Regions from separate parts of the Homo sapiens genome. Here all the other regions are linked to region 7. The links are contacts of gene promoters, found by promoter capture Hi-C in human tissues and cell types (Jung and others, 2019). All regions are on one chromosome and are shown on one strand. Each heading gives the region's core, a stretch centred on a gene start or on the middle of the fragment in contact. The rest is flanking DNA. Distances are from core to core; before and after follow the strand shown.

The links. The method cuts DNA at HindIII sites, captures the fragments that hold promoters and counts their contacts. A contact is called where the count stands out against the background at its distance.
Region 1: a contact is called between a fragment that was not itself captured here and the fragment with the promoter of ZFAND3 in region 7, in 3 of the 25 tissues and cell types used here (dorsolateral prefrontal cortex, hippocampus and mesenchymal stem cells).
Region 2: a fragment that was not itself captured here is called in contact with the fragment with the promoter of ZFAND3 in region 7 in 1 of the 25 tissues and cell types used here (dorsolateral prefrontal cortex).
Region 3: a contact is called between a fragment that was not itself captured here and the fragment with the promoter of ZFAND3 in region 7, in 1 of the 25 tissues and cell types used here (aorta).
Region 4: a fragment that was not itself captured here is called in contact with the fragment with the promoter of ZFAND3 in region 7 in 6 of the 25 tissues and cell types used here (IMR-90 fibroblasts, dorsolateral prefrontal cortex, hippocampus and 3 more).
Region 5: a contact is called between a fragment that was not itself captured here and the fragment with the promoter of ZFAND3 in region 7, in 2 of the 25 tissues and cell types used here (bladder and hippocampus).
Region 6: a fragment that was not itself captured here is called in contact with the fragment with the promoter of ZFAND3 in region 7 in 2 of the 25 tissues and cell types used here (IMR-90 fibroblasts and mesendoderm cells).

What each region holds. Positions count from the first base shown.
Region 1 is chr6:38,152,783-38,156,383 of GRCh38, forward strand. ZFAND3 (zinc finger AN1-type containing 3) reads left to right here. Exons shown (of 6, transcript NM_021943.3): 6 at 1-1,842. Among named protein-coding and RNA genes, the nearest start is that of BTBD9-AS1, 330 kb to the right of the region's middle. RefSeq lists an enhancer at 255-875. The HindIII fragment of the contact is 3,909 bases long and covers 1-3,601 here.
Region 2 is chr6:38,224,126-38,227,762 of GRCh38, forward strand. The region is part of intron 9 of BTBD9 (BTB domain containing 9); the gene reads right to left. Among named protein-coding and RNA genes, the nearest start is that of BTBD9-AS1, 260 kb to the right of the region's middle. The HindIII fragment of the contact is 3,539 bases long and covers 1-3,437 here.
Region 3 is chr6:37,494,175-37,497,763 of GRCh38, forward strand. All of the region lies in intron 1 of CCDC167 (coiled-coil domain containing 167), which reads right to left. Among named protein-coding and RNA genes, the nearest start is that of CCDC167, 3.9 kb to the right of the region's middle. The HindIII fragment of the contact is 5,400 bases long and covers 1-3,589 here.
Region 4 is chr6:38,278,280-38,281,978 of GRCh38, forward strand. All of the region lies in intron 8 of BTBD9 (BTB domain containing 9), which reads right to left. Among named protein-coding and RNA genes, the nearest start is that of BTBD9-AS1, 200 kb to the right of the region's middle. The HindIII fragment of the contact is 8,508 bases long and covers 1-3,699 here.
Region 5 is chr6:38,305,425-38,309,005 of GRCh38, forward strand. The region is part of intron 7 of BTBD9 (BTB domain containing 9); the gene reads right to left. Among named protein-coding and RNA genes, the nearest start is that of BTBD9-AS1, 170 kb to the right of the region's middle. The HindIII fragment of the contact is 4,773 bases long and covers 1-3,581 here.
Region 6 is chr6:38,199,889-38,203,421 of GRCh38, forward strand. All of the region lies in intron 9 of BTBD9 (BTB domain containing 9), which reads right to left. Among named protein-coding and RNA genes, the nearest start is that of BTBD9-AS1, 280 kb to the right of the region's middle. The HindIII fragment of the contact is 7,341 bases long and covers 1-3,533 here.
Region 7 is chr6:37,817,613-37,821,166 of GRCh38, forward strand. It overlaps ZFAND3 (zinc finger AN1-type containing 3), which reads left to right and starts at 2,115. Exons shown (of 6, transcript NM_021943.3): 1 at 2,115-2,404. The coding sequence starts at 2,334. It overlaps ZFAND3-DT (ZFAND3 divergent transcript), which reads right to left and starts at 1,775. Exons shown (of 2, transcript XR_007059569.1): 1 at 966-1,775; 2 at 1-878. RefSeq lists enhancers at 1,322-1,711, 1,681-2,483 and silencers at 1,762-2,141, 2,182-2,411, 2,572-2,741. The HindIII fragment of the contact is 25,591 bases long and covers 1-3,554 here.

The DNA of each region.
Region 1 (3,601 bases), core at 596-3,095, 330 kb after region 7:
TGGCTTTGCCAGAAACTCTGTTTAATGATCGGCCTTTCACCTCTTCACTTATCCTTAGTCCCAGTAGCCAGGATACCTGATGGCCACGTGTGCCTTGGCCACGGGAGGCTGCTGAGATTGGCCACGTGGCTGGGCTGGGTGGTGGCCTCACTCTCCCACAGAGCTGGAAATGGGGGGTGGGGGACAGATTCTTACGGAAATTTTTTTACCTGACTTGCTATGAAAAAACTCATCACACAAGAAGAGAAACAGTAACCTCACTTTGAAAATTAGCTCCACTCAAGACTAGTCCACGAACGAGACCCGCCTTTTCTACACAGGATCCAAGGTCACGAGAAGCAGCCAGAGTGCCCCGCCTCCGCCGGCTCTGGTCTGCCATTCGCCAGTGCAGGGATCTGGCACGGACCAGATGTGGCGAATGGCAGCACAGCGCGGTGGCTGGGTCTGCACACTGGCCTCTGCAGCCAGATTTCTATATTGGGAGTTTTTTAAAAAGACATTTCATAGCCAACAAGAATCAGTAGAAGTGCTGGGAGCAGCAGCTGGGGAAGCTGCCGCCCACGGGCTCTGCCCCTTCCAGCTGGAGCCGCCCGTGCCTCCAGGGGCCAAGAGGATGATGTCGTGGCCTCCATTCTCGTTTCTATGCAGCCCCATAGTCCAAGGACACCCAGTCCACATCTACCATATAGCAAGTTTAGTAAGGGAAGGCAGCATACGTCCCAGGGACAGTGGGTTTGGATCTGTCTAGAACAGCGGTTTGTGGCTGTGGCCCAGCTCCGAGAGTGATATTTGCTCTGGTAGGTGAGGGCCTGAGGGTACATTTCTCCACCTGTGCCCCCTCATGTTCACAGAGGATTTCAGCAGCTGCAACTGCGCACGCCAGGTGGGGAAGGGTGGGGGTGGGCCTGGTTGCCCCATGTTAGGAAATCACTACCAGTCAGGTGGGGCTGGGGCTGGGTGGACAGGATCAGGATTCCCTTGAAAGCCCAGGCAGGGTGAGCAGTCCCAGTGGTCCTAGTGCCGCATCAGATCCAGGTGGGTGAGGGCAGGAGGCCCCTGCGGAGGCAGCGTGGATCTGCCCACACATAGGCTACTGGAATAGTTTAACCCAGCAACTTTCCTTTTTATAAAACAACAAATGGTTCAACTCTGTCTGCAAATTAACAGCTGAACACCTGCAACTGCAAATGTTTTTTGATCCGACGTACTGAAATAGGAAGTCATGCTCTTCCCACCCTCCACCCACCAGAGTGGAACCCGCTGCAAAATCCCCAGCCTTAATTCTTGCTTCAGGACCCAGACCGGTGTCTTGCTCTAGGGCAACCCAGGGCAGAGGGGCCAGGTCTGCCCAGCGTTTACCACTGCTGTCAAGCCACAGCCCTTGGCCACCATACGGGCCATCCTCAGTGAGGCAGCCCCCCATAGGCTTCCGCCAAGCTCTGGTCCCGAAGAGGCTGTGCGAGCCCTTCCCGGCCCTCCCCAGGGCCCCCCGCCCCCTCCTCTGCCTGCTGCGTGGAGGCAGCCATGGGAAGGAGCCCAGGGGAGCTGGCCTGGGGGAGCGAAGCCCATGTTCGCTTCCTGACTTAGAGCTGGGGGGGGTGGGGGGTGGGGCTTGTTCCCCTGCAGTATCTGTTCTGTGAAGTTTGTTAAATGTAAGGAAAGCTTAAATTCTTGTATCTTTAAAAGAGAAAATCTTATTTAACCCTTTTGTGTTCTAGATTTACTTACACACATAGCCTAGAGCTCAGTTTTAGTTTTAACATTGTGAAAATATTAAAAGAATCTTGTAACTTTATTCTTTTTTCTCCTGCTGAAAAAAAAAATTAAACCAATCGTATGAAAGTTTGGTTTTCTTGTTTCACCCCTTCTCCTAAGTGCCCCCTGGGTTGCTGGGAAAACTGACCCATCTCCCTGGCCAGGGCTGGAAAGAGATGGGGGCCTGTGTGCAGAGACCGTCTGCAGTACTTGGAGGCACTCGTCCAGTTAGTGTCCAGGCTAAACAGCCGCTTCCTTGCTTTCTGTTGGGAGCCTCTGCCCTGGGAAGCTGCGGGACTGGCCTTGGGGTAAAGGTGGGTCTGCAGGGCCAAGCCTGTGCCAGCAGCCAGGAGGTTACACACTGGGGGGGATCAGAAAACGAGCCCCAGCCCTGAGGGCCCCAGGCGTGGGTGGGGTGGGTGCTGGGTCCTGAGGGAAGGCAGCATGCCCTAGACCCGAACCCCACCCTAGGAAGGGCCTCCAGGATGGATGACGAAGGCTCCCAAAGGCTGGCTTGGAGGAGGTGTGTGCTGTGGCACTCTTTGGTGTATAGGATGAACTTAACTACATTTTTAAATGTTCAAAAAACATTTGGCAGGGCAGGGGCGAGGCACAGGAGTGGGACCTGTCCCCACTTCTTTTAGGACAGAGATATTGACCGCATAGTTGTCATGAGCGTGATGAAAATCCTCAGAGGAAATCAGAGGCCCAGTGGCGATGAACAAGCACGGGGGCAAAGGGCAAGAGAGGGCCTTGGTGGCCTGGGTGTGAGGCGGGCCTGCAGGGAGCAGTGGGCTGTGCTCTGCCCACTGGTCCACAGGAACTGGGTCTGCGTCAGCTCCTTCCTGATTGCTTCACAGAGCAACAGTCCACAGCAACAACATAACTGTTGTTATGCCAACAACAGTCCACAGCAAGAAGAGGGGATGGTGGGAAGACAAGCAGAAACCTTCCTGCTGGGTGGCGTGAGAAACAGGAAACCATGGGTGGGAGTGGGCCGTGGTCTTCAAGGGAGCCATCAGCAGCACATTCAGGGAGCTGTGAGCAGCCCCTCTAGCCCCAAGAAGGGGGTCTCCAAGAGAGAGGGCCCCAGATGGGCACAACAGTAACACAGATACCCAAGAGAAGTCTGCAGGAGTCTCAAAACCTGATTTCCTCAGCAGCCATTCTCGCAACTACATGGGGGAAGGCTGCAGTGAGGGAGGAGTGATCGGAGAAAGACATGGAGACTTGGGACCTGGGGCGGGCTCTGGGGGAACTCAGCACACAGCTCGAGGCCTGCGAGGTGGCCCCATATCTTGTCAGCACTGGGTCCTGTCAGAGGGCTTGGAGAAGGTCTAAGAATCAGAGACAGATACAGACAATTAAGCAAGTAATAACAGTGTATTAATGCCTAAGCAGAAATACACAGGAAGAGGAGCTGCAGACCCTGTGTGACTCAGCTGTGAATAATATTTACGTACAAATAATGTAAACACAAATACTAGTGAATATTGCTCTGGTAAAAATATATGCTGGATCTCAGTAGGAGACTGGGAGAGGGAAAGAATGTGCCTGTGTATTGGTGGCAGAGGATAAGAGAGCCAAGTTCTTGTTCTTAGCAGGAAATCAACAAAGGATGTCCAAAGCTGAAAACTTGAGAGTAGTATGTTATTTAGAAATATGGAGGTAAAAGAGGAGGAAAAAGCTTAGAAGTTAAAATTGGTTTTCTTTGGGGTAGGAGATAGGAATGCAGTAGGCCTTATATTTACGACTACAGTTAAACATATAACATTGATTGAAAAATTGAAATGCTTTAATAAGGGAATGATGGAAGCCCTTCCTGGGAACTGAGGGGCCAAGTCCT
Region 2 (3,637 bases), core at 418-2,917, 410 kb after region 7:
TCACTTGAGCCTGGGAGGCAAAGGTTGCAGTGAGCTGAGATTGTGCCGCTGCACTCCAGCCTGGGTGACAGAGCAAGACTCTGTCTCAAAAGAAAAAAAAAACTTATGAGGTATGGACAATTCAGTAATAAGATTTGAGTCTCATAGTCTGCACGACCTCTTTTTCTATGTTTTCATTCCTCTTGGATTTGTCTATTTTCCTGGCTCAGTTGGCAAGCGCCTGGCCTGAGCAAAATTCCTAATCTCAGATATGGCCATGAGCGTATTTCTGGATGAGGGCCATCTCATTATGATGAGAAAGGAAAGGACTGTCCAAATCCAATGCTACTGCTTCAGGGAAGAGGACCCTTGGGGTAAAACCAATGTTGGATGAAAAATACTTAAGAACCTCACACAAAGGCTTTTTAGAGATTACCATCCAAAATACACACAATGGAGAAGCTCTATCAACTGAAAGGTCTGAACAAGAGTAAGGAAACCACACATGAAGAGTAAAAAATACAAAAGAAAAAACTTGTGTAAGACCAAGATCTATAAGAGAGAGAATGATCCATTATTGAGTCAAAGATCAATATGTAGCTGGTTCAAGTACAAAGGTAACTTTTTTTCCACTTCTAATTTTCATAATTTACATATTTAATCAGAGCTATCCAAATATCACCCATTACAAACCAACGCTTAACGTGGAGCTTGTTTCAGAATATGTGTGTTAGGTAGTACTTACATTGTTTACAAGGCTTGGTCATTCAGAACAAAAATGTAATTTCAAGGTAATAAGTATGATGTTGCAGTTCTATAATCTAACTGGGTATATTCATAAATGTGAGTCAGAAAGTCACACTTAGTTTAAGGTAACTAACTTCTGATGGAATTCTTGCTGGTAGATGGTGAATGTGGGTCTTAATGAGCTCTCCTATGAAAGGGGCACTTACCATGGACAGGAAGATATGAAAAAGCATGCTGGCTCTGTGAGTGCCCCTCAAGGCAGCCTTTGCATTTGTACCAAAATTCAAAGGACGGAAATGTTCAGTCAGAAGTTCTCTTACCTACCTCACTCCAGCTAGGGAACCAAGGCCATCTATCTCTTTTCCCACAATGCCATGGACAAATGGAATAGAAACAAATCAGCAAAGGTAGCTGCCACATCTTGCCCAATGATGTGTCCTAGAGGCTCTGAGATTCACTTGAATGAAGTCACCAGCAGTGAAATTCACAGTTAATGGGAAGATGCAAAATGCTCAGGAGACATTAGAAAGCTAGCCCCATAGACCCTGAAGGTGAAGACCAAAAGCTTCCCCAGTGGTAAGATATAGGAGAGAAGGGGCATTCCCTGGCCCTAAACTTACTAATGTCCTCCTGTGGAACCATTCCTTTAGTAACTATTAATAAAAAACTGTTAATATGTGCCAGGCATTTTATAGGTGCTAAGAATGTAGATATGAACAAAGCAGACATGGTCTCCACTTTTAAGGAACTTAATGCCTAATGGAAAAACTTAAGTTATAAATAACTTAAAATTATAAATTGTGACAGGTGCTATGAAGGAATAACAGGGGAGGCCAACTCTAGCTTGGCTGGAAAGGGTCACTTAACCAGCCAGGCAAGGGCAGGGGTACGAGGGACTACCTATGAGAGGAAAAAGAAGCATCAGGGGCAACCCAGGACTTCAAGGTGCTTACAATCTAGTCAGAACGACCTAATGACATCTGATGTTTGTATAGAGTTTTACCACTTACAGATTACTTTCATTGCATCAATTTATTTAAGGCAGATATGACACACACATAGAGAAGACTAACAATACTGGTACTTGATGACTGAGCACGTTTCATTGGCAAGGCTTAACTATGAGGCCAAAGGCCAAAGGTGGATTAGCTTCTCTACTTTCCAGGGTTCCCAAATCCTAAGGCACACTAGTCTTTTTTGCTCCAAAGTACTTAGCTCTTCCTGTGCCTTGCTTATTTTCTTATAATAACACTTGCTCTCACCTGCCCTCTCTGTTTCTTTGCTCCATCCATAGGAATGTTAGTTAGGCTTGTTCAGGTTACTAGGATAGGTCACCTTAGGTTTCAAAGGGGGGTGGGAGTGTGAAACCACCTCTTTTGTGGAGAACTGATAAGATACTGATCCCCGCGCCTGCACAGTTCAAAGCATGGCAACATATGTATAAGCAACTGTCTGTGGCCACCCTTCTCAAGACAGAACAGGGAACCAGGCAGGACTCAGCAGCTCTTACAGTAACTGAACAGAGCACTACAGTGATGACAGAGTGGGGGCAGGGGTTCCTTGCTGCTGCTCCAACTCTGCAAAAGGAGTCAGGAAATGGGGCTTGGATGGCGTGCAGCAGCCAGCAAGATGGCAGAGGTTCACAGAGAATCTCTAGCTCTGTGACTGCAGATGAGACACAGGCTGAGATGAGTCTGGCTGTTCTGCCCCAACTGCCCCCAAAACAACACACACAACTGAAGAGTAGGCAAGGAGAAAGGTTAAGAATCTAGGGGTGATGGCAAGGTTTTTGACTCTGGAAAAACAAGTATTAAAAATGCTCAAACCTGAGATTTGGGCATAAGAACACTTAAATCTCAAGGTGCTTGCTCAGGGGTGAGGACAGGTGTGTACACACACAAACATGCACACACACACACGCACTCACAGAGTTACCTCCACTGACATAAGAGGCTTCTAAAGTCATTTGTGGTACCATGGGGATCCAATTAACTACAGTCTCTCACAAACATTAAAATCCTAGTTAGACATGAAAACCACTGCTGCGGCCTATCAAAGGCAAGCCTACAGCTGACAGAGCAGCCTTGAATAAAACAAAGATCCAAAGACAGCAGGTTTACTCTGGAAGCAATTGACTTTATAACCACAATTTGACCCAGCATTTTACAGTGGCGACTAGCAGAGGCTGGGGCAATGTGAGGGTTACACTTAACAAGTATGTCCTGGAGAGGCTTGCTCACCCACTGTGTGCCTCAAGTCCCCTTAGTGCGAAGTCACTAGAGAGAGAAACCAAATGCTATACTGAAAGGAGATGCAGAACACTGTTTAGAGGAAGGTCATAAATTTTCTCTGGAGTTTTCTGAGGATTCTGGGATTCTGATTTGCTTCCAAATGAGACCACTTTTAGGGTTTGTACTTTGAGGTCCTGGCTGTCGGCATTAGTGCTGCCACTTGGTTTTGTTTTAGGAGCACATATTTAGTAGGCGGTTACATTCTTCTATATGCTGGTTTTTAATTCCTTGGATCTCTAATCCAAAGATGCTTGAAGGCCTAAACAATGAACCTCTCAAAAATAGGAGAATAAAGAGGCACACAATGAGGTCTGGCAAAGTGCTACAGAGCCCCAGACAAACATGTCAGTTACTGTCCCTATCCCTTCCGCCTGATGAGGCTGGGAAGGAAGGTGATCAGAAAGTGGCTGGGACGGCAGGGCTGGCTGGCCACAGTGGCAGGCTGAGGAATAGGTTCAAGAGTGCTTCAGAGAGGCCATAAAGACTCCTGCAGAAGGTCACGGCTGCATATCTAGAAAGAAACAAGGGATCACTTTCCTTTATGTATGCAGCTCTGCTGCTGACAGAGCTCTGAGAGTATAATGGAGAAGGGGGCCTGGGACTGGCATTCTCTCCTTGCC
Region 3 (3,589 bases), core at 107-2,606, 320 kb before region 7:
CCTGCCTCAGCCTCCCGAGTAGCTGGGATTACAGGCATGTACCCCCATGCCTGGCTAATTTTGTATTTTTAGTAGATGGGGTTTCTCCACGTTGGTCAGGCTGGTCTCGAACTCGTGACCTCAGGTGATCCGCCCGCCTGGGCCTCCCAAAGTGTTGGGATTACAGGCGTGAGCCACCGCACCCAGCCGATCCTGCCCTCTTTTTCTGGTAAGGATTCCAGTGAATTTTCAATGACTCCCATTAGCATTTATTCCTTACAGCAGATACTGTCAACTGGCCAACACAACACCGACTCCCCACCCCTGCTCCTTTGCCCACCTCTACTCCAGAAGGTGGAAAAGCTCAGCAGATGCTCTCCCAACCTCACTGCAGCTAGGCTTGCTCATGACCCAGTTCTGGCCAATGAGACGTTCCAGAAGTCAGCTAGGAGACTCCTGGGGAAGCTTATGCTTTGTTGATAAAAGGGACAGTGTTGTTCCTTCCTCCTCCTTCCTGAGTTAAAGTTGAATATTAGACTGGAGCTGTGGCAGCTATATTGTGACCATGAGGAAACAGTGAAGAGAATGCAGAAATACCAACTCTGACATAGCTAAGCTTTTGAACCAATGCCAGTAGCCACCTACCTACAAATTTTTTTTTTTTTTTTGAGACGGGGTCTCTGTTGCCCAGACTGGAGTGCAGTGGCACGATCTTGGCTCACTGCAACCTCCACCTCCTGGGTTCAAGCAATTCTCCTGCCTCAGCCTCCCGAGTAGCTGGGATTACAGGCGTGTACCACCACTCCTGGCTAATTTTTGTATTTTTAGTAGAGATGGTGTTTCACCATGTTGGTCAGGCTGGTCTCGAACTCCTGACCTCAAATGATGCACCTGCCTCAGCCTCCCAAAATACTGGGATTACAGGCGTGAGCCACTGCACCTGGCCCCTACAAATTTCTATAAGGGGAAAAGTCTACTCCCATTTGCTTAAATCATTGAGGTCAGTTTTCTATAACTTGTAGCCAAAAGCTTTCCAAACTGATAAACTTTCTGTACTAGGGGTCAGATCCAACCAAGTTATCCACTTTAGGATACCGGCTAAGACACCACACATCTGTTAACTCAAGACCAACTGGTCACTGAAACATCTAAAGACACCAGTTTGAACAGTCCAGCTACAAAAGAAAAGTGCAATGACAAAGGAACAGCTCATTACCATCAGAGATCCGAAAACACAAACAGGTTTTACATCAGTCAAAATTCTCCTATCAGTTTAGACTGAAATTCAACCTTTCCTTCCTCCCACACAACATTAAAATCAGTACTGGGTGGGTGATTTCTCATTTGAACTATAATTTTCTTTTCTTATTAAGAATGAAATCTCAGAAGCTAAAACTCACAGTTTTTTCCAACTCTGAGATCTCATATGGTGGCAAATGAATTGGATAAAAAGACCTCAAAAGGAACCACTTTGAGGGGGAGGCTAGAGGGTGCCCTGGTTGTCCTAAGAGGTGGCTGCTTATACAGCTGGCCCAAGCCAGCCCTAAGGGTGAGTGCTGCCTGCTTGGTAATTGCTTCATTACAAGTGGAGACTGTTTGCAGGTGCTGAGATCACTCACTTGTGGGGGTTTTATTGCACTCGTCAGATTAACAAACATTTTTGATTAAATCACCACTTCATTGGCTCTGAGCACACAACTTTTAATAAGAGGACAATATCTACTGCTACTGAGCATCAGTGCACATTCAATACTCAGACCCGCTGGGGGCAACTGAGAAGCAAGGTGGGGAGACAGCCAGCCAGATGTCAGGCTTTTTCCAAGGCACACGGTTACAGATGTCAAATCTTCGAATATCCAAGCAAAAAGTAAACTTAGGGACCAAGATAGCAAATATAAACATCTACCGTGGTATGGAGAGGGTAAAACAATGGAATCTGCCCCAGTATAAGGCACTTGGAGAATACATGCCCCACCAAGTTTAAAAACGTAAAAATCCGGCCGAGTGTGGTGGCTCACGCCTGTAATCCCAGCACTTTGGGAGGCCGAGGCGGGCGGATCACTTGAGGTCAGGAGTTCAAGACCAGCTGGCCAACATGGTGAAACCCCGTCTCTACTAAAAATACAAAACTTAGCTGGGCATGGTGGTGCACGCCTGTAGTCTCAGCTTCTCGGGAGGCTAAGGCACGAGAATTGCTTGAACCCGGGAGGCTGGAGGCTGCAGTGAGCTGAGATCATGCCGCTGCACTACAGCCTGGGCAACAGAGCAAGACCCTGTCTAAAAATAAAATAAAATAAAATAAAAACTTAAAAGTCTGTCAGCCAAACAGAAGACATCTGTGATCTGTATTTGGGCCATAGTCAAGGAGTTTGTAACCCCTGGTGAAATTCAAGTCCTTCATGTTATAGATGAGTGAACGAATGCCCAAGAACGAGTTTGACTTAGCCATGGTGGAAGGATGCAAAAGAAATACAAAGGCTGGAGCTACCATGTATTGATTACCAATCCGGTGCCAGGCACGTGCTGGGCACTTAACGCAATGTCTCATTTAATCCTCACAACCACACTGTGAGGTGAGGTGCCATCTGTAGTGAGACTACAGGCTGTCTGTGAAAACACACTGGTCTCTTCCTCCATAGTAAGCAAACAGTAGCTGGCTATGTGGCCTCCTGACTGGTGAACGCATTTCCCTGATCCCTTGCAGTCAGGTGGGGTTTTAGTTCTTGCCAATGGAAAGTGGACAGTTTGGGCCCAGGACAGTGGGTGTGCTTCCTCCATTCTCCTCTTTCTCTGCCGGTGGACACATCAGTGGGGTATGCCCCGGTTCCACTGATAAGGTGACAAGATCTCAAGAGATGGTGAAGCCACAGAGGAAGGGAATCTGGCAGAACCACCATAGACCTGGTACTCTAGACCAGGAGTTGGCAACTAAGCCCTGTGGCCAAATGGTCTAAGGACTGTTCTTGCAGATAAAGCTTTAGTGGAACACTGACACACCCACTTATTTACATATTCCTTCATTTACATACTCCTACCTTAGCCTGAATACAGTTGGTTCTTGTTGTTCCTGGTAGCTATGTCCTATAAAGTTGCCTCTAATATTGAATTAGCAAATACCAAACCAGGTGAGGTTCCTGCAAGCCTATGGACACAACATTTTTGCAACCTTGTTTCATGTGTGATTCTGTTTAAAGTGACCTTATTCAATATATATTGTTGATTCATTAACACTGGACTCACAACCAACAGCACTATACGTGCTGTTACATCATGAGTTATATCATGCCTGAACAGTTTATCTAAAAAACCTGTTTTCTTCTACAACACATCACAGCCTTCTTGGATTTAGGAATGCCAGACAGCACTTCAGCCCTATGCTTGGGGTCGGGGGTCGGGGATCGGGGGCACTTTAAACAGCAAAATCAGGCAGTGGCTCACACCTCTAATCCCAGCACTTTGGGAGGCCGAGGTGGGCAGATCACCTAAGGTCAGGAGTTCGAGACCAGCCTGGCCGACATGGCAAGACCCCCGTCTTTACCAAAAATACAAAAATTAGCCGGATGTGGTGGTGGTCTAATCCTGGCTACTAGAGAGGCTGTGTCGGGGGAAG
Region 4 (3,699 bases), core at 965-3,464, 460 kb after region 7:
TGACACAAAAACAAACAAACAAAACAAAAAATAAAACTGAAAAAACAAGTCTTTCTTAATGAGATTATTTGTTATTTGCAGCCAAATGCAAGCTCCTTTGGAACAAATGACCTCTAGTAAAACAAATGTAAAGTCTCAGTTGCAACATATAATGGCAGTTTCTATAATTTATGACCACAGAAATCAAGGGTGGATTGAACCATAAGATGTGATGGCTCCTTTCATTTTCTTTGTAAGGCTATAGGAGGTTCTGCAGGATCACGAAACAAATTAGAATCTTTGGAGCTGGAGTTTTACCATGGGTTGTGTTGTCCTACTCCTGATGGAGAGAAAGGGATGAAACTCAAACTATGCTTTGATTTCTTCATCTTGTAAATGAAAACAGTGAGAGCAGCTAAAGCTCCAGAACCACTGTAAGACATGGTGACCAAAAGAACCATTAGCCATTTCTAAAAATTAAACTGTACAGAAGGTCTAAACACTCTTGGCTGGTGTTTGGTTACAGTAAAAGAATAATGTGGCAAGGCAGGTAATATCATAACCATTGAGGGATATGGTTTCAGGCATAATAAGGTAAAAGGAAGAAAGAAGATCCTGACCATTAAGTCTTAAGGGCAGCAAGGAAAGAAAATCCAGGGAGAAGTAAAAGCATACTCTGCATTTATCTATGTAACCAATCCCCCTTGCACTGAATCTGATACATTGCTGAAAGAGGCAGTGCAGCAGGCAAATAATGATTCCTCAGCTAGAGCTAAGACCCTGAGTGTCCAGGAAAGTTGCTGAAAGGAGTCCTTGACGGGCACCAACCAGCCTGTCATCATAATCATCTTTCCTAGAAGAAGAATGCAGAAATGGAGGTAGACAGAGAGGAGAGGCAAGAAGAGGAGATGAAAGAGTTTTTCTTGGTCTCAGTGCTTCTGCTTGTTCTTAAGTAGATATACAAGCATGTTTTGGTCAAGTGCCTCTGTGGTTACCAATGTAAGGGGCTAAGCTTTTTAAAAAGAGAGATACACTGACATCAGGTGCTATCGAGATGTACCAAAAGTATCTGAACAAAGTGACAAAGTTGGGCTCCTGGGAAAAGAGTCTCTGATTTAAGGGTACTTGGGGAAAGAATAAGAAGATTTTCAAAGGTAGATCACTGCTTTGAATTAATTCAAGAATTAGCCTTAAATGACTGTGACCCTTCATCAGTTTTTTCAGAATAGCTTTATTCTGAAAAATACTCAAAAGCTATATTAAAGCAATTTGATGTATTAAATGTGTACAAATTTCAATTTGCTTGAAGTCCTATGCTTCTGTTAGCCCTCATGAGAATAGCTGCATTTCTGTGACCCCGTGTGGCCTATCCTGGGGCAGCAGCATATAAAACATCTGCCACAGAAGGAGGAGGCTGATGCTTTCCACTCATTTCGTTTTCCAAGGTGAACAATTCTGGTTTTTAAAATGATTGCTATAATCACTACCGGTGAAGTATTTGTTTTAAAGAGTTCTTAACAATTCTAGATAATTACTAAACACACACGTGTGCATGAAAAAATGGGTCAGATGGGGCCGAAATCCTCTGTAAAAATGTCTTATTGATGGGTTAAAATCTTGGAAAGCTAAAAGGATTCTTTTCATATATCCAGCTATATCTTATGATGACTACTTGCCAAGTTCTCCAATCACTCAACAGAGGTAAATGGTTGACATGTGAGGTAAATCACACACATGAACACACAAACATATTTTTTTTTTTGGCATTTAACTTTTCCTGCTTTTCCAAAGAACATCTGAATTCTAGTGCTCCTCCTGTATTTTTAACACACAACTTAGTTGCCATAGCAATACTGTCTGGTCTTGAAATACCTCTAGGATGAAACTGGCTGAGGCATATTTACCATGCCCCCAAACTATCCTGCTATCTGTTTCCAGGATCCAGGATTTCTGGCCCTCTATGCATTCACACAGTTCAGACTTCAGCACCTACTGGGAACCATAGATAAAATTATTTGCTGTATGATTTTTCTGGGAACCAGAGCTCTGAGGTCTGAGGGTGATAAAAGAAGACTTTAGAGTGATGCAGATAGGCTCAGAGAGAAACAACACTTAGTAATAAATCATGGATCAGTGAGACAAGGAAGAATTCCTTGGTTCCGGGCTGTGACAGACGACATTCAGCATGACTGATATGAAGCAAATTTTGTAAAATATCTTTCCAATTTTGACTAGAATTATAAGCAATCTTAATCCAAGCCAGAAGAGTCATATATTTAGATGTTTGCTGTATTCTTCAGGCTATAAAAAGGAAATTTCTAGCTCTCTAGGTTGCAAAGAAGGCTGTCTTAATGTAAATAGATGTACTGCTTGCCTGTGCAGCACTCAGACAGAATGAAATGGAAGCGGCATGGAACAAGTGAGGCAAGCATTTTTACCTGTGCTAATGTCATCACCTGTGCTAATGTCAGAGCCTAACTCCAGAGCTCAATCTCAGTCATTTGCTGGAGATGTTGGATCTTTAGCAGTTTCCTCACATACACTTAGATAAGACACACTGAGCAAATATGATGTCCAATTTAGTTGCTAGATAGAACTCCCTTTAGTTGCACTAGCATCTATGTTGTCAGTTTAGTCAATGAGTGTTTATTGAGTACTCACAGCACAGAGAAGCATACTATGCATTTGGAAACTGCTGCAAAGACTCAAGCTCATCACAACATTAAAAAATCACTATCTTCAATTTGAGATTATCTGTGGTCCTACTAGAGATTGAGTGCAGCACAGATGTAGAAAATACTCAAATAATTACAAAACATTATTTGAGTCATTAGCCCCAATTCCTCTACCCACCCTTATTGACTAAGCCTTCATTTGGCTATTAAGTAGGAAAAAAATGGCATTTTTTACAGTTCCTCTCCTTTTTCTTTTCTGTGCTTATCCTTCTGGAGGGAAGTGCATGAGCAACAGTTAGGCAGGGTGGTAAGCAGCAGGAAGAAGAAAAAATAGCAGTCTAAAGGAGGTCACGGTAATTTACAAACTGAATAGATAATCTAGAGTTGGTTGTAGCCACACAATAGTGAAAGGACAATTGAACTCGGCATGGGCTTGACAGTTCACAGAGAAAGAAAAATATACCAGATGAATAAGGACCACAGTGGCATATGTAATTCTTTTATTATTATTATTTTTTTAGGATCAACTTGCTATTACTTCTTTTTATCTACTTAATAACTACAAGACATAAACTGATTTGTGGTTCAGACAGTCTGTGCCAGATTAACTTTTTAAAGTGGTAGAATTGTTTTTTCCTTCTGCAAAACAAAAAGAGCTTCACCCCACAGACTAAAGAGATTATGAATACCCATCAAGAAACTATTTTGGGCTAGACATCTTTTGTCCTAACATATTGCATTTATATAATATTTTCCAACTGAAGAACTCAAAATGTTTTTGTGTCATTAACTTCTTAATACTCACAACACCCACAGAGACAATGGGTTTAGTTAGCTGCATCTATCTAAACAGTCTTATCTTTTGACACCCTATTTACTATTATTTGTTATTTAAAATATTTTGGGTATTTCACTTACTCTATTGCACATATCAATTGCAAAAACATCGTTCAAACCAATGTAAAAATTGTTAATTTAACTGACTATCTTATAATTAGGGTTTCAACAAAGTGCTGTCATTTATTAGCTGGAAAAGACTGGATGA
Region 5 (3,581 bases), core at 859-3,358, 490 kb after region 7:
GAAGAAGAATGCAGATAACAATGTAGCTTTTAAAGACTATAAAAGGTTATTGTTTTTGTTTGTTTTGTTTGTTTTTGAGATACAGTCTCACTCTGTTGCCCAGGCTGGAGTGCAGTGGCACGGTCTCAACTCACTACAACCTCCAACTCTCAGTTTCAAGCAATTCTCCTGCTCAGCCTCCCGAGTAGCTGGGACTACAGATGCACGCCACCACACCGGGCTAATTTTTTTTTGTTTTTAGTAGAGATGGGGTTTCACCATGTTGGCCAGGCTGGTCTCGAACTTGTGACCTCAAGTGATCCACCTGCCTCAGCCTCCCAAAGTGCTAAGATTACAGGTATGAGCCACCATGCCTGACCCTTAAAGACTATAAAAGGTCTTTTATGCCCGAGGGGGAGAAATGTCTGCTTTAGTCACACTTACAGTAGTTGTGACAGAAGATGTTTGTATCAAATGTCACCACTGGTTTACTAATATACATAGGCCAAATCCTCCATTTCAGCAGGGAATAATTGTGTTATGAATTTTTCTTTCTAGAAACACAAACCTCAGCCTACCTAGTTGGACTGCCTTAAACAATTACTCAATGGTTTGAATAAGTTCTGTGGTCTTTCTTACTGGGAAAAATTAGAGAGTGATTCTATATCTGAATGCAGCACACAGAAGGTTCCACACTGTTTTTCTTCCCAGAGGAACTGGGCCACTCCCCATTTTGAATGTTCATTATCGTCTTTCATATGCGTCTGATAAATTTATTAAAAACACCATCTGGATGGGACTGAGCTTTCTGCTCTATTTCTAGTCTTCCAGTTTCCTCCCTTGTCCCACTGGAATTTCTGTCCCAATTTGTGTCACTTTGTTTACAAAACCATGCTGCCAAAACCCAGTGTCTTGTATCTGTCTCTTTCTGGTGTTCCTTTGCCATCCCTCACCTACATCCCTATTACAACAGCCTGTGCTAGGAGCAAAAGGCAAAGGTGAACCGCCTGGACAGAAATTACTTTTCCCCCTCTGTGCACATAGCAATTCTGCTCAGACAAATTTAATCTGCTGCTTCTGAATGCAAAAGTTGCATGTTAACAAAGTGTATACATTCTGCAAAGTGTATGAATATTGGAATGACTCAGACTGCAGGGAACTGCAGAAAAAGTGATCTGAAAACAATTTTACTGCTCTCTGTTCTTACAAAGCACCAGGGGTGGCCAACGACTTGCCTCTAAATTTAATTCAGGAGTAATAAATTTTTTAAAAGGCAGTATTACTTCAGTAGGACATGACCTGAGGGCCACCTGTACCAGCTATATTTAAAGATAAGACTGACATGTTATTTAACTGTCTCCAGAGATCACTTTTGAGAGGTGGAGGAAAAAGACCCACTTGAAGCAGATTTTGTAAAAGGAAATAACACTTAGCAGTTACAGAGGACTGTCATCTTCAAACACTGTGCTCTGCTGGGCTTTATTCAATGTTTCCCTGGCTGTTTTCATTACAAAATTGTTTTCTAACAGCACAGTGGTTCATGCAGCAAGCAAATGGTTAATAATCTCTGAGTAGATCATTCTCTATTGCCAAGATTTTCATAGAGATACAAAGATTTCCTGTTTAAGAAGATAACTATTAGCTTAAGGTCCTACCTAGAGGTCTTCCCACAGACCTATCACTTCTTTTTTTAAAGGAGGAAACACACCAGTGGCCTAGCCCCAGGCCTACACAGGAATTTGTTGCTGATCAGGCAAGCTTCTAACCCAACTGTAATCCAACCTTCTGTCAAATTATTCAAGAGGAAAAAATATCCACAGCTGTTCTGTCTTAACAGCTGTAAAAGAACAATAGCTAATTAGAGAACAAGCCCATCTTTCTTGGAAACTATCAAAAAGCTGTAAAAATGTATTCTACAACACAGGCACTTAGTTATATTAATGCCTAGTTTTATCTATCAGGTTAAGAAAATCACTTTTCAATCATATATTACATCACCAAAGAAAAACCATGGGTTATATATAGCATACAATTTTTAAGCTTTTCCTTTCCCAAAGTTTCCCCCACCTGCTTCTGTGAGAAGGCTGCTTCTGAACACACTTCCAGAGAATTCAGTCCTGACCACCTCTCCATACCTGTGGGTGAAGCCCATGGGTGGAAAACAGGCTATGCCTTTTGAAAACTGGAGCCCCTTTCCCCTAATCGATTTTTCCTTCTTTCTTTGCTATTTTGTCTGTTTAATTAGCATTAATCCAGTATTCTGATCTTTCCTGTTCTAGCTCCAATTTTTACATTAGCAAGGTTGCCCAAATCACATCTTATCTTAAGATTATAAGGGCTCCAAAAATCATGCTGAGTCCATTTTAGCCAGTGATAAGAAGAGGTTAAAACTTCCCTAAACTTCAGATGTGTTCCCCTCCACCTTTTGCCCCTCAAACACATGCAAATTTTATGAAGCTATAGCTCTAAACACTTCAGAGGAAGTGGCCTGCTTTCTAGAAGATAAGAAATCAGAGATGGTTATCCCCAGGGACAGAAGTGAGGTGATGTGGCAACAGTAGATCTCAAACATACAAGTTCACCAGGATCAGTGAATTTTCTCTCTCTCCTCACACTGGGGCCTTTGAATGAAAGCACTTTCCAAAAATAACTGTATGGTTTACTCTCTTATGTGCAGTTTGACAATCCTGTAGTTTAAATGCTAGAGGTTTTAGCTGAGAAAATCAATTCAAAGGCCTTAAAGAATCAAGCATCAGATGTTAGCAGTAATAACCACTGCAGTATATCAAAGAGGGATTCACTCTGAAGGTGAGGCCTTGAAATTGAGGACAGAGGCATTTCCAGGTATAAAGAAAAAAGATAAACCAACCATCCAATTCTGTGTTTGAACTAACAGGCAATATCTCTATTTTTTTCTTTCCTCCGGACATAACTTGTCAGGGAAGAGACTTTACATCTGCACTGTAAACATAACGTGATTTATACAAACACAGGAGAAGGAATAACCAACATACAAATAGTCACTTAAACTGGTTTTGCAAGTTTTCAAAATGATTTCTCAAAAAATTAAGAAGTTTTAATATAAAGGGCATCTTTTTCTGTGAGTAGTATCATAAGTTTCACATGAATTTATTTTTCCTTCTTCCCTAAAAGATGTTCAAATTGTTGCAGGATTGCTACTTAAAATCAACAGAGTTTTGTTTTGTTTCTGTTTTTTTGAAGCAGGGTCTCACTCTGTTGCCCAGGCGGGAGTGCAGTGGCATGATCACGGCTCACTGCAGCCTCGACCTCTCACAGGATGAGGTGATCCTCCCACCTCAGCCTCTGGAGTAGCTGGGACTACAGGTATGTGCCACCAAGCCTGGCTTATTTATTTATTTATTTATTTTTTGTATTTTTTGTAGAGATGGGATTTTGCTATATTGCCCAGGCTGGTCTCAAACTCCTGAGCTCAAGCATTTCTCTTGCCTCAGCCCCCCAAAGTGCTGGGATTACAGGCCTGAGCCACTGCGCCTGGGCCAACAGAGTTATTTTTGTACCACACTACGAGTTTAAAGGGTCGTCAGGTCACAACAGGTTTGTGACTCAAGTCAGAGATGTCA
Region 6 (3,533 bases), core at 208-2,707, 380 kb after region 7:
GGGCTGCTGCCCCTAAACTGTAGGCAGGGGTGACCATGGGCTACCATCCTCGAGGCTTGGGGTGGAGGCACAAACAAAGCTCTATTTTAGGACCTGCCTCTACAGACTGCACACTGTCCTGGATCCCAGTGAAGCCAGACCTGAGGTCAGGAGAAGCATGGCCTGCTGTCCTCAGGGCTTAGATGTGCACAGGCTATGCACTCAGGGCTGAGGGGCAACCAAGGTGCTGGCTACCACAGCAGGGGCTGAGGTATGAGCACCACGGGCATTTCCCACCTGCAGGCCTAGGCTACTGTCACTGAAGGTGGCACTGCCCTCTCCAGGGAAACAAATGAAAATGAAAACAAAATAGACCAAAACCTGTGGGACACTGCAAAAGCAGTACTCAGAGGGAAGTTTACAGATTTAAGCCCCTATATACAAAAGTAGAAAGGTTTCAAATCAACAATATAATAATGTACCTCAAGAAACTAGAAAAGGAGGAACAAATCAAACTCCTAAATTAGCAGGAGGAAAGAAACAATAAAGATTAGAGCAGAATTAAATGAAATAGAGACTACATAAAAATACAAAGGATCAATGAAATGGAAAATTGGTTCTTAGAAAAGATAAACAAAATTGATAAACTGCTAGCTAGACTAACCAAGAAGACAGAAGACCCAAATTAACAAAATTAGAAGTGAAAAAGGAAACATTACAACTGATGCCACCGAAATACAAAAGATCATCAAAGACTATTCTGAACAACTATATGCTAACAAACTAGAAAACCTAGAAGAAATGGATAAACTCCTGGAAACATGCAATCTATCAAGATTGAATCAGGAAGAAATAGAAAACGTGAACAGATCAATAATGAGTAGTGAAATGGAATCCATAACAAAAAGTCTCCCAACAAAGAAAAGCTCAGGACCTGATGGATTCACTGACAAATTCTACCAAACATATAAAGAGGAACTAATACCAATCCTCTTCAAACTATTCTAAAAAATTAGGTGGCACATGCCTGTAATACCAGCTACTTGGGAGGCTGAGGCAGGAGAACTGCTTGAGTCTGGGAGTTTGCGATTGCAGTGAGCATTGATTGTGCCATGACATGCCAGCCTGGGCAACAGAGCAAGACCCTGTCTATAAAAAAAATAAAGTAAAAATAAAAAAAAAATCCCAAAACCAAAGAGGAGGGAATACTCCTTAACTCATTCTGCAAGACCAGCATTACCCTGACACCAAAACCTGACAAGAACAAAACAACAAAAGAAAACTACAGGCCAATATCCTCAATGAACACAGACACAAAACTTCTCAAAAAAATACTAGCAAACCAAATTTAACAGAGCATCAAAAAGATAATACACCATGATCAAGTGGGATCTAACCCAGGGATGCAAGGATGGTTTAACAGACACAAATCAATAAACGTGATACATTAGATCAACAAAATCGAGGACAAAAACCATATGATCATTTCAATAGACACAGAAAAAGCATTTAATAGAATTCAACATCCCTTCATAATAAGAAGTCTCAACAAACTAGCCATATAAGGATATACCTCAAAATAATAAAAGCCATCTATGACAAACCCATAGCTAACATCGTACTGAATGGGGAAAAGTTGAAATTCTTTTCTGTAAGAACTGGAACAAGACATGGATGCCCACTCTCACCACTCGTATTCAACATAGTACTAGAAGTCATAGGCAGGGCAATCAAGCAAGAGAAAGAAATAAAAGGCATCCGAATTGGAAAAGAGGATGTCAAATTGTTCCTTTTTGCAGATGACATCTTATATTCAGAAAGACCAAAGGATTCCACCCAAAAACTCTTAAGGGTTGATAAGCAGATTCAGTAAAGCTGCAGGATACAAAACCATCATACAAAATTCAGTAGCATTTCTATACACCAATAATGAACTAGCTAAGAAAGAAGTCAAGAAGGCAATCCCATTTACAATAGCTGCCATGGAAAAAAATTCCTAGGAATAAATTTAACCAAGGAGGTGGAAAATCTCTACAACGAAAACCACAAAATACTGATGAAAGAAACTGAAGAGAATACAAACAAATGGAAACTCATCTTATGCTCATGGATTAGAATAATTAATACCATTAAAATGACTGTACTGCCCAAAACAATATACAGATTCAATACAATCTCCATCAAAAATACCAAAAATCCAAAAATGTCGTTTTTTTTGTTTTTTTTTTTTTTTTTTGAGATGGAATCTCGCTCTGTTGCCAGGCTGGAGTGCAGTGACACAATCTCAGCTCACTGCAACCTCCACCCCACAAGCTCAAGCGATTCTCCTGCCTCAGCCTCCCGAGTAGCTGGGACTATGAGTGTGCGGCACCACACCCAGCTAATTTTTTTGTATTTTTAGTAGAAATGGGGTTTCACCATGTTGGCCAGGATGGTCTCCATCTCTTGACCTAATGAACCACCTCGGCCTCCCAAAGTGCTGGGATTACACACGTGAGCCACTGCACCCAGCCCAAAAATGTCATTTTTTACAGAAACAGAAAAAAAAAATCCTAAAATTCATGTAGAACCAAAAAAGAGCCAGTATAGCTAAAGCAATCCTAAGAAAAAAGAACAAAGCTAGAGGCTTTGCAGTCACTACCTGACTTCAAAATATAGTACAAGGCTATAGTAATCAAAACAGATGGTATGAGTATAAAAACAGCCCAACAGAGTATACTGGAACACCCAGAAATAAATCCACATATCTACAGCCAACTGATACTCAACAAAGGAACCAAGAACTTACACCAGGGAAAGGATACCCTCTTCAATAAATGGTGCTGGGAAAATTGGATATCCATATGCAAACTGGACCCCTATCTCTCATCATATACAAAAATCAACTCAAGATTGATTAAGGACTTAAATGTAAGACCTGAAACTATAAAAATAATAGAAGAAAACATAGGGAAACCAGTTCAGGATATTGGTCTAGCCAAATGGGACTGTATTAAATTTAAAAATTTATGCACAGCAAAGTAAATAATCAATAGAGTGATAAGGTAATCTGTTGAATAGGAGAAAATACCCGCAAACTATTCATCTAACAAGGGACTAATATCCAGAATGTACAAATAAAAATTTCATTAAAAAATGGGCAAAGGACATGAATAGACACTTTTCAAAAGAAGACATACAAATAGCCAAAGGGTATATGAAAAAATGCTCAACATCACTAAGCATTGGGAAAATGTAAATCAAAACCACAATGAGATATCATCTTACCTCAGTTAGAATGCTATTATTAAAAAGACAAAAATAATAGATGTTGGTAAGAATGAAGAGAAAAAGGAACTCTTATACACTGTTGGTGGGAATGTAAATTAGTACAGAAACCATGGAAAACAGTATAGAGATTTCTCAATAAACTACTACTATTTTTCAAGCTGAGAAATAAATTTTTAAAAATCTAAAAGTACAACTATAGGAAATGGATAAATTTCTGGAAACATGCAATCTACCAAATGATCCAGCAATTTCACTTCTGGCTATCTATCCAAAAAAAAAGAAAT
Region 7 (3,554 bases), core at 865-3,364:
TCGGCTTAAATGAAGATTTAAGGGTAATATGAATCCAATGAGAGCAAGGTGTGCTGTATGGCTTTATCCTTTCTATGCATTTTTTCTTTCTTTCTTTCTTTTTTTGAGACAGAGTTTCGCTCTCGCTCTTGTTGCCCAGGCTGGAGTGCAATGGCATGATCTCGGCTCACTGCAACACCCGCCCTCCGGGTTCAAGCGATTCTCCTGCCTCAGCCTCCCAAGTAGCTGGGATTACACGCGTGCCACCATGCCCGGCTAAGTTTTTGTATTTTTTTTTTAACTAGCGACGGGGTTTCACCATGTTAGCCAAGCTGGTCTCGAACTCCTGACCTCAGGTGATCCACCCGTCTTGGCCTCCCAAAGTGCTGGGATTACAGACGTGAGCCACAGCGTCCGGCTTTTTCTATGCACTTTCTTACAGATATACTTATTGAAGGCTTTGGAAAATCCACCAAATTAAAACTAAACATTGTGCATAATAAATCAGCACTCACATTTTAGGGTGTTTTGGCTTTAAGTGCTTGATTTTTGCAATCATTAACTTCACCATCAACAGCATCTGTGGCATATTAAGCTAAATGCGATCCTTGCTCTTTAGAGGCCAAAATAAACATCAATGTTAACAAACCCACACAGTATGCACAAACAGAAATGTGATTTGGTATATAAAGAAATAAGATAGCAACATTTGGTAATCAAATTAATCTAGGTAATAGTCTCTCTGAGGCTCTGATATACCCGACAGGCAAGGAGGGTATACGGCAGCTATTCCTAAGAGCCAGGAAGTCTTCCTCAGCGATGGGTCTCCAAAAGGTCTGGAGGATGTTGCCTCCGTGTTGAATTAGTCATCAATAATCGATTTCTCTGTTCATGACTAACTGGAGATCAGAATGAGCTCAGGATCAAGGACTAGGATCGTTAAAGGACTCATTTTTTTAGTGTCTCAAACTTCTTTGGTCACTTACCAATTTCCATTACTGATTCAGCTACAGCTCCCCTTTCCCCTCCAAAAACCAAACGTGTCAGCTGTAGGAAGAAGTGCGGCTCTCCTAGCCTGGGCATAGGGACTCGCCTGGGCATAGATAATGTACTTGTGGCTCTGTGGTTGGGAGTGGAGACAAGGAACTCCCCAACACCGGTGGGGGAGAAGAGACAAGGAAGTTGCCCCAGACAAGGGGCTGGGGGAGGGGCATTTCCCAAAAGTTCCTGTCAAGAGACCAGTATACCGGGTGGAACTATAAGAGTTGTTTGGGTGTGGCGGGACCAGGAAGAGAGAGAGAGATGCCCAGGGAGTTGGCAAATTGGGGAGAATGGCTCCCCGGAATCGCCCAGGAGCCAGAGCGGCAGCTCCAGGGACCTTGACTCCGACGCCCCCGGGAAGCCAGAGCTCCACTTCCGCGTTTGGCATTGCTCCCCCAGGCCCCTCCTCGCACTCGGTTACGGGTTCTACGGGCGCATGCGCCGCCACTCTGGGACTGGCCCAATTTACCCTACACAACTAATCTGCTCCTCCCCCTCCCGCTTGGAGCGCACCATTCGCGTTTAGGGGGAGGCACCGCGCCCCGGAGTACTCAGAAACCTGCTCCCCTTCTTCAGACAGGGGGAAGATAAGTTTGCTTCAGATTCTAAAAGTTCTAAGAATACGAAGGCCTCAGCCGCCCGTCGCCGGGCGACAGCCCGAGGCTCTCGTTTTCTCCCACAGCCCCGCACTCCGCCTTTGAGGCGCGGAACGAAGTGGCACGCCCGGATCCCAGCTGATCAGCGGCTGGGCTTTGGCGTTGGCTCCCCCGGGCGAGACCATTGTGACTCCTCGGGAGGGGCGCACGCCGGGGAGGGGGCGGAGCGGCCATTGTCCGGTCAGCGCAGCCTCCGGGGGAGGGGACGGTGTTACGGAGACAGCAGGGCCCGGGGCTTCAGAGCGGCCGCTGCGACTCCGGAGCCGGCGGGGGGCTCCGGTCCTTCCCTGCGCCACCGCACAGGACATCTCTCTGGCTGGGGAGCGGCGGTGAGACCCGCCGAGGGCGTCTGTGTCCCTCCTCCCCCGCGGTCCTCGGTGCGTCCGCACGCCCCTCCTCCTCGGCTCCCTCCTTCTTCTCTCCGCGCCTCTCCGCCCCCTCCCCGTCTCCGCAGGCCGAGTGGTGCGGCCCGCCTCCAGCTGACCGGCCTGGAATCCCGGCTCCGAGCCCCGGACTCGCGCCCGCCCGCGCGCCCGCTCCTTCCCCCTCCCCCCGCCCCGAGCCCCCCGACGCCGCCGCCACCGCCTCCTCAGAGCGGGGCCCGGGCCCAGCCGCCGCCACCGCTGCCGCCGCCGAGCTCCGCCGCCGCCGAGCACCATGGGAGACGCTGGGAGCGAGCGCAGCAAAGCGCCCAGCCTGCCGCCTCGCTGTCCCTGCGGCTTCTGGGGGTAAGTGCCCGGCCGGGTGGGGGCGGGGGGCGGGGGCCGGGGGCGCAGACGCCAGGGCAGCCTGGGCAGGCCTCGGGGCCCGGGAGGCCGGAACCTTGGAGGCTGGGCCCAGCCCGGGCCTACGGGGAGGGGGTGGGGGTCGCGTTCCGGGGAGGGGTGCCGGGTGGGGAGCTGGGGGTGGGCAGAGAAGGCCCTGCCGGGGGTGCGTTGCTACCCTTTGGGACTCGCCGGCCTGAAGCTCGGGCCCACGGGGGCCTCCTGGGCCACGGGTGAGGGGGGCAGGGCGGCGGGGAGGGATGAGGGGGCGGCGTTGACCGCTCCGGGAGGAGCAGGGGTGCCCCTTCCGTGGGCATGTGGAAGCCAGCCCTTCCTCCCTCCCGGGGCGTGAGTTGGTGCCCAGGCACTAGGAGGGTATTTCCTCTGACTTCTTCACCTCCCCTCCTCCCCGTCCTCCGGAGACTTGCATCATCACTTCCTAGATTATATCCCAGTGCCCCATTTGCTTTTAGGAAGCTATTCACACGTCACCCGTTTGTAAAAACCGAGTCCAGAACCAGGCTGGGGTAAAGTTATAAGATTGTTGAGGTCTCACCTTCATGTAAAACACGTTTCAGGAGATATGTAAAATTTCCTTGTCAAAAAGGAAGAAAAAAACCACACAAAACCTGAAGTCAGCCTGGATTGGGGAATATGAGATCCAGTTTCCTCAGTTGGCTCTCAAATTCTCCTCTTTCTCAATTTAAGTAAAAATGATAAAAATGTTGACAGTGGGTAGCATATATTGTTTGGCCATCATGTGTTAAGGCGAAAAAAATGTGAGGTGGGAAATCAGCTCCTCTTCCTCCCCCCATTACTGTTTAAATTCTCCTGGTAACACTTTAAGCTTCATGGATTGCCACCTAACAGGTGCCTCCATCATACCACATGACTGTAGTTCTGCAGTAAGAAAGCTGGAGACTTTGAAGGCTGGCTTTTGTGATTTGAGTCCCTTTTCTCTTTTATCGTTTTGTTTTAGTTTTATTTTTTGAGAGATTCCGTATATTTGGAGACATAGAGGCAGGAAGGAAGATTGTTTCTGGTGAGGACATCTTGGGAAGAAGTATGGAAGTAGTTTTCCCTTTGCTATCTCCCATATTGTAGGAATGGTTAA